Linked DNA regions of Homo sapiens: region 2 is linked to region 1. Evidence: promoter capture Hi-C in human tissues and cell types (Jung and others, 2019). All regions are on one chromosome and are shown on one strand. The core of a region is centred on a gene start or on the middle of the fragment in contact, and the rest is flanking DNA. Distances in the headings are between cores, read along the strand shown.

What was found. Contacts are between HindIII fragments. The study calls those that stand out against the background at their distance.
Region 2: a contact is called between a fragment that was not itself captured here and the fragment with the promoter of CTR9 in region 1, in 5 of the 25 tissues and cell types used here (H1 embryonic stem cells, IMR-90 fibroblasts, bladder and 2 more).

What each region holds. Positions count from the first base shown.
Region 1 is chr11:10,746,997-10,752,496 of GRCh38, reverse strand. It overlaps CTR9 (CTR9 component of Paf1/RNA polymerase II complex), which reads right to left and starts at 1,251. Exons shown (of 25, transcript NM_014633.5): 1 at 1,040-1,251. The coding sequence starts at 1,084. RefSeq lists enhancers at 1,364-1,413, 1,434-1,583, 1,382-1,882. The HindIII fragment of the contact is 21,303 bases long and covers 1-5,500 here.
Region 2 is chr11:10,637,838-10,643,337 of GRCh38, reverse strand. The region is part of intron 2 of IRAG1 (inositol 1,4,5-triphosphate receptor associated 1); the gene reads left to right. Among named protein-coding and RNA genes, the nearest start is that of IRAG1, 53 kb to the left of the region's middle. RefSeq lists enhancers at 1,155-1,334, 1,355-1,404. The HindIII fragment of the contact is 8,261 bases long and covers 1-5,500 here.

The DNA.
Region 1 (5,500 bases), core at 2-2,501:
ATAATAAAGTTAAAGCACAGAGAAGCAAACAAACCCTGCTACTTGTCCCCAGATCACTGGAACTATAAAATACTAGAAATGGTCTGCTTACTAAAAAATAACAAAACAAAATCCTACTTAACATAGAATCCAAGTAAAGTGCAGATAAGCACCCTAGAGACTATTATGCCATAGGTCTGACTCCTTGAGATGCATGACCCTACAAGCCATGCAAAGTTGAATGCCACTGCACACATTAATCATGGAGGTGGCACCTGCGTGTAACAGACAGTCCTGACTGTAAGCACAAAAATAATAATAGGAAAATGTCCTGGAATTAGAGGTAATGACTATACAACTTTGCGAATACACTAAAAACCACTGAATTTTATACCTCAATATTATATCTCAAACAAAAAAAATAAAAATAAAAGATATACAAGAAGACTGAACATCAAAGCTGAGAGCTTTACTCAGACAAGCCACAGGCCACCCATGAATGAGACATAGGTAAGCGAGAGGAGGTTAAATTTTATCAGCACACAGGGGCGGCTAAATCTTGGGATATCTCGTTGAAGGAGAGTTGGTGTAGAGAACACAGCGCACCATGACAGACTCGAGTTTCTAAGGGAGAAGAGGCGACCTCCTATATATTCCCAGGGAAAGATCTCGAGTTTGAGCAGCAAGCATATAAACCCCGGAAACATCAGCGCCCACCTCTGTAATCTGCGAGGTGTTTTACAGTTTATCGGGTACTCTCACACCTCTGCTCCCGTGGGTTGGTTAGGAAAAGAGTAGCGCACTGTCAAATTCGAACAGGCTGGAGAGGAACTTTCAAGAACTCCTTCTCCGAGTGGCCCTGAGGCTGCAGAGACGCGGTGCCCCCAGCCTGAGAGGGCACAGGGGCTGAAGAAGATGATGATCAGACCTTGGCCAGGTATTTCGATCAGGGCTCTTAGGGAAGGAGGATGCTCTCGCTTCAGAAACGAAGTCGAGCGAAGTCGGTGGGGGCGATCGTACAAGTTCATGGCCCCCACCCGCCTCCATACACGACACTTACCTCGTCAGTGTCCCGGAGGGGAATCTCGATGGAGCCCCGCGACATGATGGGGTCAAAAGGCGAGCAAGTGTCTCGCCCCGCCGCTCCGCAGCCGGTAGTCTCCGCTTCAGGCTAATCCAGAGGTGAGTGACGGCTCCGGCTCTGGTCTTGACTGCCGCCCCGCGGCGCCGCTGGAGCTCTGGCTTCTCCTTCCCGTCAGCCGCTTAAACAACGAGCAGCGGACGGCGGACGGCCACTTCCGGCGACCCCGCCCCCTGTCCCGGAAGCACTCCCGGGGGAGCGTGCCCTACGCGAGCTCAGCTTGTGGCTCCGGTGTTTCCGTTTTGGGGTTGGCGGCTCCGAAGCTTTTGTTGGCGTGTCGGCTGTAGGGTGCCCCGAGAGCCTGCAGGACCTTCGGAACCATCTGGCGTCTGACTCTCCTCAGCGCTGGCGCGGCCCCGAATGAAAACTTGGAAGGCGTAGCCGCTTGGTCCCGCGGTGGGCGGGGCCCCTGCCTGACGTGGACCTCTCGGGATGGGCCTGGCCAATCCTGTTTTCTTCCCAAGATTGTTAGGGATAATTCAGTCATTCGTTTCGCAACCCATCTTTTGGCCCCCGTTAGGTGTAAGTCATACCTGTGATACCTTTGTGACTAGTTTAAATAAAAAAATTTACAATTAATTCGGTAATCATTGTGATAATTCATGTCTTATTTTTTTTAGTTCTTCGAAGCATGTAAGAAGATCTAGTATATTTGTGATTTAAGTAAAATTGCAGATGAGGCCAGGCGCGGTGGCTCACGCCTGTAATCCCAGCACTTTGGGAGGCCAAGGCGGGCGGATCATCTGAGGTCAGGAGTTCGAGACCAGCCTGACCAACATGGTGAAAACCCGTCTATACTAAAAATACAAAAATTAGCCCGGCGCGGTGGTGGGCGCCTGTAATCCCAGCTACCAGGGAGACTGAAACAGGAGACTCGCTTGAACCCGGGAGACGGAGGTTGCGCTGAGCCGAGATCAGCCACTGCGCTCCAGACTGGGGATCGATCGAGACTCCACCTCAAAAAAAAAAAAAAGAGGAAATTAATTTTAGTAATATATTTTATTTAACGTAATATATCCAAAATCTCATTTCAACATGTAGTCAATATAAAAATTCAGATAATTTTTACATTTTTTTATACTGAGTCTTGAAAATTCGATATGTATTTCACATGCATACACTGATCTCAGTTGCCTGATTTTAATTGGAAATATTGGATCTGTGTTTAGATTTTATAAAGTTTGCAGTTGAAAAAATAGGTTCACACACTTTAGTTTTTCCAAAATTTAAATTAAAAAAATTCCTAATTAAATTCCTTAATTGGATTAGTCATATTTCAAGTGTTCAATAGCCACATGTGGTTAGTGAATACTGCATTGGATGGCATCAGACAGTATTTCCCAGAAATACTGTTTAATATATTTTAAAGTTTATAAAGTAAGCATTAAACAAAAGTACACATAGTGGTGATTGTTATTCTCCATGCCCAAAAGCCTCCCTGATATTAAAAACTCTATTGATAGGTTTGGTTTTTCAGTTATTCGCATCCAAAGGCATCATACCTGATAATGCAGAGTGCTATGATTGAATAGTTGGGGCACTCAGTTTAGAGTGGGATTTGGAGGAAGTGACATTTAAGTTGCATCTGGGAAAATGAGTAAGGTTTGGCAGGTAAAGTATGTAGGGGAATGTGTACCAGACAGAGGGGACGGCATGTTGGGGAAGAGCTTTGAGAACCTGCAAGAAGGTCATGTGACTAGAATGTAGAAAATGAGGGGGAGAGTGGCATGAGTTGAAGCTGATATAAGAAGTACCCAGACATGCTGGGGTTTATGCTTATAAAGCAAAACTGACATCTTGTCCTGTTTCCAAAATGAGTGAGTGTACATATTACTTCCCACAGGAAAAACAAAATACTTTGTGTTCTGAAATAAACCGTGAAACAACAGTATCACACTCTGTAGTCTCCAAAGTGAACAAAACTTTCAGCATTTCCCATATATTACTGACTCTCTTACAGTTTAATTGCTGACTTTTGTACTGCTACAGTCTGAAGATATGTGGGAGCTTGGGGTCATATGGCAATCATATGAGAAAATTGCTCTTTTCTCACCATGAAGCAACTAACTGTAAACCTTGGTGTGTGTTCATTTGATGTATCAGTCCTTCTAAAGCGTAAATTCACCTGTATACTTTTGCAAGTGTTTTTGTAAGTAAACTTTTTTTCTAAATGCTTTTGTCCTTCAGAATTTCTTTTGACTTAGTATATATTAATGATTTGGGGTTTTATCTTACATGCAAAGTGATTGAAATGCTTTAAGTGATGTGTATGTGTCAATGAGAGGGAGAAAGAATAAAAGAGAATTGGTTTTGGCCAGGCACGGTGGCTCATGCCTGTAATCCCAGTACTTTGGGTGGCCGAGGTGGCCTATCACATGAGTTTAAGAATTCAAGACCAGTCTGGGCAACATGGTGAAATTTGTCTCTACTAAAGATACAAAAATTAGCTGGGTGTGGTGGTGCACGCCTGTTATCCCAGCTACTCAGGAGGCTGAGGCATGAGAATCACTTGAGCCCCAGAGGCGGAGGTGAAGGTTGCAGTGAGCCAAGATCATGCCGGTGCACTCCAGCCTGGGCGACAGAGTGAGACTCTGTCTGAAAAAAAAAAAAAAGAATTGGTTTTAAAAGATTGTTCTGGCTATGTTGTGAAAGATGGATTGGAAAGTGTCTCGAGAGGATGTGGGCAGACCACTTAGGAAACTGCTGTCTAGGTCACAGATGATAAATAGGAATAGGTTTAAGACAGTGGAGGTGGAGAGAAGTGGATGGATTTAAGATTATCATCTATCTATCTGTCTATCAATCATCTGTTGATACCTTAGTCACTAGGACTTGCCAATGTATTGGATATAGGCCGGGGTCACTGAAAAAGTAGTGTCAAGAAGGACGTCCAGTTTCTGGCATGAACAACTGGGTGAATGATGTGTCATTTCCTAAAATAGGAAAGATTAGTGGAGGAGCACATTTGGGCAAGGGTAGACCACTAGTTGGATTTCACATGTGTTGTTTGTAGTTTGTACTGTCTCTGCGACAGCCAGATGCAGATTTCAGATAGTCTAAATTACAGATCTGTAATTTAGAAGACAGTTTCTAACCTGGAGAAATAGGTCTGAGAGCTATTGGCATAAAGATGAATTTTAAAACTATGGGATTAAATTAGATTAGATAACCTAGGGAGAGAATGGAGAGTGACAAGAGAAGGGCCTAGTTCCCAGCCTGAGGAATTCTAGCACACAGAGGGTGTGAAGAGGAAGGTGGCCTGCAAGGAATCAGCAAGGACAATGAAGAGAGAATCACCTATCAGGGGCCTGGCAACAATTGAGACTTAAACTACACTCTTGGTACCAGGTTGCTACAAGCAGCCTTTTGTTTTTCCCTAAATGTAGCAGGCACTGATGAAATTAGATGTTTTAAAGCTGTAGAACCAGTTTTGGAGCAATTTCAAAGATTTTATTTCAACTGGCATGATTGCATAATGTCCATTCACAAAACACCATGCCCCATGTTGGGCCTGAGTGCACCAGATCAAGGCAAAGCAGTTAGTGTATTTGGCCAGTGTGGGTTTTGTTGAGTACATGTTCTAAATAGATTGTTAAGATTCTTACTTTTATGTTGTTGGTATTGCAGTTGTCTGTAATGTTGGTAAATATATACATTTAGCCAATCTGAAGAGTAAGTTATTTTATATGTTGATAAAATATGCTAATAATTAATTTATTATTTTTGAGGCAGGGTCTCACTCTGTCATGCAGGATGGAGTACGGTGGCACCATCACAGCTCATTGCAGCCTCAAACTCCTGGGCTCAAGCAATTTCCTGCTTCAGCCTCCCAAGCAGCTGGGATTATAAGCAGACACTACCACATCTGGCGAAATATGCTAATTATTAAAAAGGAGTGAAGAAAGTTGATCTTAACAAATTAAATATACATATAATTTGTTATATATAATTATGTGTGTATATATTATATATATATTATATATAATATAAATATTATATTTTATATATAATATAAATATATTTTATATAATATATATTATATATAATATATAATATATATTATATAAATATATAAATATATTATATATAATATATAAAATATTATATATAATTATATAAATATATAATATATATTATATATAATTATATAAATATATAATATACTATATAAATATATAATTATATAAATATAATTAATTATATAAATATATAATATATTATATATATATATATTTTTTTTAGACAGGGTCTCACTCTGTCACCCAGGCTGGAGGGCAGTGATGTGGTCATGACTCATTGCAGGCTTGACCTCCCTGGGCTCAGGTGATCCTCCAGCCTCTGCCTCCCAAAGTGCTGGAATTACAGGCATGAGCCACCACG
Region 2 (5,500 bases), core at 1,232-3,731, 110 kb after region 1:
CCAGGGAACTGGCCCTCTATGCTTGGCAGGGAGGAGCCCCATGTCCAGCAGAACTCAGCAGAGGCACTTCTGCTCTCTCCTGTGCCCCTAGGACTTGCCGCTGGGATAATCATTTTCTTTCAAGTCCCCAGAGAGTCCTTTTTTTTTTTTTTTTTTTTTTTGAGACGGAGTCTCACTCTGTCGCCCAGGCTGGAGGAGTGCAGTGGCACGATCAGGCTCACTGTAAGCTCCGCCTCCTGGGTTCACGCCATTCTCCCGCCTCAGCTTCCCGAGTAGCTGGGACTACAGGTGCCCGCCACCATGCCCGGCTAATTTTGCTTTTGTATTTTTAGTAGAGACGGGGTTTCACTGTGTTAGCCAAGATGGTCTCGATCTCCTGACCTTGTGATCCACCGAGGCCATGCCTCGGCCTCCCAAAGTGCTGGGATTACAGGCGTGAGCCACCGTGCCCGGCCCAGAGAGTCCTTTTATCCTGTTGTAAGAGCACTGGCTGCTTTTGCTGCTGGATCTCCTCTCTACCAAGGCAGTCCCTGTTTGCCCTCCAGGCTACAAGACAGGGATCTGGGGATACAGTCTCACAGCACGCACCCACCACCACCACTTTCACCGTCATTATTATTGCTTTCTCTCATTTAATACTTAAAACAAGCCTAGAGAATAGTGATTATTAGCTCTATGTAATGTTTTAGACCATGAAAGAGAAGTTTAGTAACTAGTAACTTGCCCAAGGTCACCCAGGTGGGATTCTGGTCTAGGCCTACCCGACTTCTTCACTAGCCCACATTGCCTTCCAGCAGGGTCCTCCTCTCCTGGGCTGTCTGCCAGCGCCCATCTACAGGATCTAAACCCCCCATGCCTGCCTGAGCTGGAGTGGGCTGGAGCTGGGGCTGGGGGTGTTCCTTACAGTTTCCTAGCCTGGGCCTAGCCATGTGACTCTGGGGAAAGGAAGCTAATATTCCCATCTATGACACTGGCCTATATTTATCCCTGTGCCCAGGCGGTTAGGAAAACTATTGTGCATTCCTGAGAATCTATGAGTGAAATAAACATTTAAATGTTTCTATAAGATTTATTTAAGGAGAACAAAATGTGGCCTGCTGGCTTATTAGAGGGTGAGCTTGCTGGGAGATGACCCAGCCCTCAGTGCTTGGCTGATTCCAGGGAAGGGAAATGGACCCCCAGGGAGGCTGGGCCCATGGAGGAGTGAGAAGGGCAGTGAGCCAAGGGCATCCTCTGCCCATGCTGTCCTTTTCTCCAGCTGTGTGTTCAGCCTTGTGCTGGTTTGAGGGCTTCCTGGAGGAAGAGGTACCTTCTGTGAAGGAGAGTGCAGCTTGGAAGAATAAGAGTGTCAGAGGCCAGCAGGGCACCAGGAACCAGGGGAGGTGAGACCAAAAACTGGGGATGCAGCTTTAAGAGTAGCGTGGTGTCGTGGGAAGGACACAGCCTGTGTTCAGTCACTTCCCCTATTTACAAGCGGCACAGCCCTGGACAAGTCAGTTTTTGCATTGATAAAGTGGAGATCAAAATAGAAAAGCAGAAGAGAAAAAAGAAAGATATCAATCTTCTACCCCATGCTCATGGCCTTCACTTTCATCTTCTCGTTTCCTCTTCACAATTCTATGAGTTTGGGAGGCATTATCACCCCCAATTTGTAGGTGGTGTCCTCAGGTTTACCCACTGAGTTTCTGGGAGGATTCGGTGAGAAAACACGAGGGGGGTCTGGGACAGGGCCCACCACACAGTGGGCCTGAGTAACTGCCAATTCCCTCTAGCCATGTTTGTTTCTGTGCTTCCATGTCTGTAACCCACAAAGGGCATTGATTGGTTTGAGAGGCAGAGGGTGAGAGGGAGTGGAGCCGGGTGAAGGTGGCCTTGGTGGTGGGTCCTTGATCACTTGGGCTTATGTGGTCAGATGCCCCAGGAGAGATGCTCCATTGCGCCGTGACCACAGTGGCTGGGCTCTCCCAATTTAACTCCAGATGGTTGAGGAGACCCAGAACTAAGAGCAACCATCTTTTCAAAACCAAATGCCAAAGTCATTAATTCAATCCCGAAGGGAATAATAAGGGAACATAACATCTAATGCTTAGTGAGCATTTGCTCAGTGCTAGGTGCACTTCCACAGGCTTGCCATCTAGGGCTGCCAGATTTGGAAAATGAAAATATGATTATATGCTGTACATGGTGGCTCACACCTGCAGTCCCAGCTACTCAGGTGAGAGGATCACCTGAGCCCAGAAATTTGAGACCAGCCTGGGCACATAGCAAGATTCAGTCGAGAGAGAGAGAGAGAATACAGTTATGTCCATGGAATATTTGAGACACACATACTAAAAATTATCTGTTGTACATTTGAAATTCAAATATAACTGGGGCATCCTGTGCTTTATCCAGAAATCCTATTTCTATATCAACTTGTTTAATTCTTATAACTACCCTGTGAGATAGTTCCATTATAGATTAGGTAACTGAGGCACAGAGAGGCAAGGTAACTTGCCCAAGGTTATCCAGCTAAAAAGTATACCATAAGGTAGTGTGGCTTCTGAGCCTGAGGCCCTGAAGCCCCTAAGCCAGTAGGTTGTCTGGCCAACGCTATTTGGTCTTACTGCTCTCCCAAGCTTTCTTGAAGGCCTGCCTTGTGTTTGACAGCTCAGAATGGGAGCAGGGATGCGTGTGTGCACTGCATGAAAATCTGGCAGAATTCACCCCAGAGGGCCCCTAGAATCTTCCCACACACTCTCTCCTGGATTACTGTCTCCCCAGTCCCTGATAGAGTGAAAAACAGCCCCCACAAGACCTGAATGTTCCCACCAAAACAGTTTTGCAGAAAAGGAGAAGTTGCCCAGAGCTTGCTCAACGATTCTGTCAGCTGATGAGGGAAAGAACACTATGATTTTATGAGTTGTGTATTTTGCACACATTAGAAGGCAAGTGTGAAGAACCTTCCAGGATGTTCCATCAAGGGATTAGAGGATTTCCTCCTAATCGCTTTATGCTTCCTGCTTTGTAAGCCACTTGGAATTGTGAGTGTCTGCGGTTACCTGCTTGGCACTTGCCACCCATGGCTTGTTTCTGCCTTTTTGTATGGGCACCTCTGCCATGGTCCTCCTCCCCAGTGAGATGCCTACAGTCAGGAGAGCTTTGCTTCAGGTAACCATTAGCCAGCAAGCAGAGAAAGCTCCTATCAGAAGGCAGCTCACTCCCGTGCCTTGTACCCATTTACCTGGTAGGTATCAACACCGAGGGCACTATTAGTAATAGCAGTGGAGGTTACTTCCCCTTCTCTCCCCATTCCTTCATGCTAATGAATGGGAAGCATTGCAGAGGCCCGCTCAGTTCACCTTTGTCTTCCCAGACCTTAGCATAGACCCTGGCCACAATAGGCATTCAATAAATGTTTGCCGGATGATTGGACAGAATAAGGTCCAATAATGTGGGAGTGTTCACAGACCACATCCCTTTCTTGGACGCCAAACAGAATCTGATCATTGCCAGCCCAGTGCCCCTCTCTTCTCCAAGAAGGTCTTTGCTCTGTAAGACTCTTCAGTAAATGTTTGTGAGTCAATCATACAAACAAATGAAGACAATCTGCACAAAAAATAACTGGATGGAGCTGGGGGAGTAAAGGCTGGAGCAGGAGAAAAAGAGAAAGAAGGTAGACAGAGGATCTGGGCAGGGAGGCAAGCAGGGGAAGAGTCATCAGAGAGGGGGCGTGAGAATCGTTAAGGAAAGAGAAAAGGGCAGAGGAGAGGTCAGGATGGGAGTGAAGATTTGTTCCCCTTTCATGTTCTTTGAGAGGTGAGAGTAAAGAATGAAGTTCCTTCTATGCTGGTTTTCTTTCTGTTGAACAGTTCCGTAAGGCGAGCCTTCTCAGAGTCTGCGCCACGTGGATCACGGCTTCATTAGGTTTCAGGGCAAATAGTTTAACCACAACTCCCAACCATAGACTGTTAGGAGCATGAGGTTCTCCTTGTCTGCTAGGGATATTTATGTTTGTCAAATCATCCATCATTCCCCCATTTATATAGTCTCATGTTTTTATATCTTATATTTTATTGTTGGTTACTTCAAGTTGCTTTGAGAAGTAGATAGTGTCAATAAGATTAAAAATAAACAAAGGCCAGGCATGGTGGCTCACGCCTGTAATCCCAGCACTTTGGGAGGCCAAGGCAGGCAGATTACTTTAGGCCAGGAGTTGGAGACCAGCCTGACCAATGTGGTGAAACCCCATCTCTACTAAAAATACAAAAATTAGCTGGGCATGGTGGTGCATGCCTGTAGTCCCAGCTACTCGGGAGGCTGAGGCATGAGAATTGCTTGACCGGGAGGCGGAGGTTGCAGTGAGCCAAGATCATATCACTGCACTCCAGCCTGGGAGACAGAGTGAGCCTCCATCTCAAAACAATACATAAAAATAAAATAAAATATGTATTTTACTTATTTAGCAGCCTGAATATATGAAACTGTTAGAAATGGATATATGCTATAACTCTCCTAATACCACCACAATTATTTTTTCAGAATACAACATGGAATTAGCTCATGTTTGGCCCATCCTGCCCCTTTAAATAGACACAGCTTATCCTCATCAATGCATGCCAGGAATTTGTAAAGCCCCACCACAAGGGGTGGTGGAAACCATATGATAGAATGCATGTAAAAAATGATATTTTAGACAAAATGCATTTCTTCTTGTTCATCAGAGGACTCATACAAGAAAGAAATTCTCTAAATATGACAGACATGAAAAAGGCAACTTTCAGAGCTCAAATTTTCACAGTCAGAATAAAATCCAGGGAAAGAAGCCCGCGCATGCTATAAGCACAGTCAGAGTTTCCATTGGCGTTCCCATGGTGATAGGCATGAGGCTGCCCAGATGATGTGGGTGGGAGAGATTTTAAGCACAAACCTCCTGTGCTCTGGAAAACCAGGCCAGGATGAAAACTACATGACACAGGGCAGTAACTCAGATGCATTTGGGGCCAGGGAGCACAAATCACTGAAGAAAGCCAATTTAGGATAGCTCAAACCTGGTTACTCTGCAGAAATATGGGCCTAAGATTGTTTGATCTTTCAGTTTAAGGAAAAGCAGGCTATCCAGACCTTTATGTGAATTCTTACAATTATGGAATGTTGATAACTAATTTAAAAACTTGTAAACACTACTAGCAAACAGGCACATGGGTCTCTAATTTGCACCTCTGAGCTCAGAATATGCATCAGAGGATGCTGATTGCTTAATTGACATCCAAGAGATCACACCTGCCAGAAACACTGACAAATCCCTGATTCCCAGTAATGCCTTTTGCTAATGCTACTCCTTTTTAATGATGTGAAGAGATTCCTCTGGAAAGACTTCAGCTCTTCCTACTCACCAGAAAACCCACACAGTAGAAAACTCCCTATTCCTTCTTCTTCCCTGGCTCTCCCATTTAGCTTGGCACCTGCCCCTGGCCCTGCCTGCTGCCCCCTCTATCTGGCTACCTGCCATTTGACACAC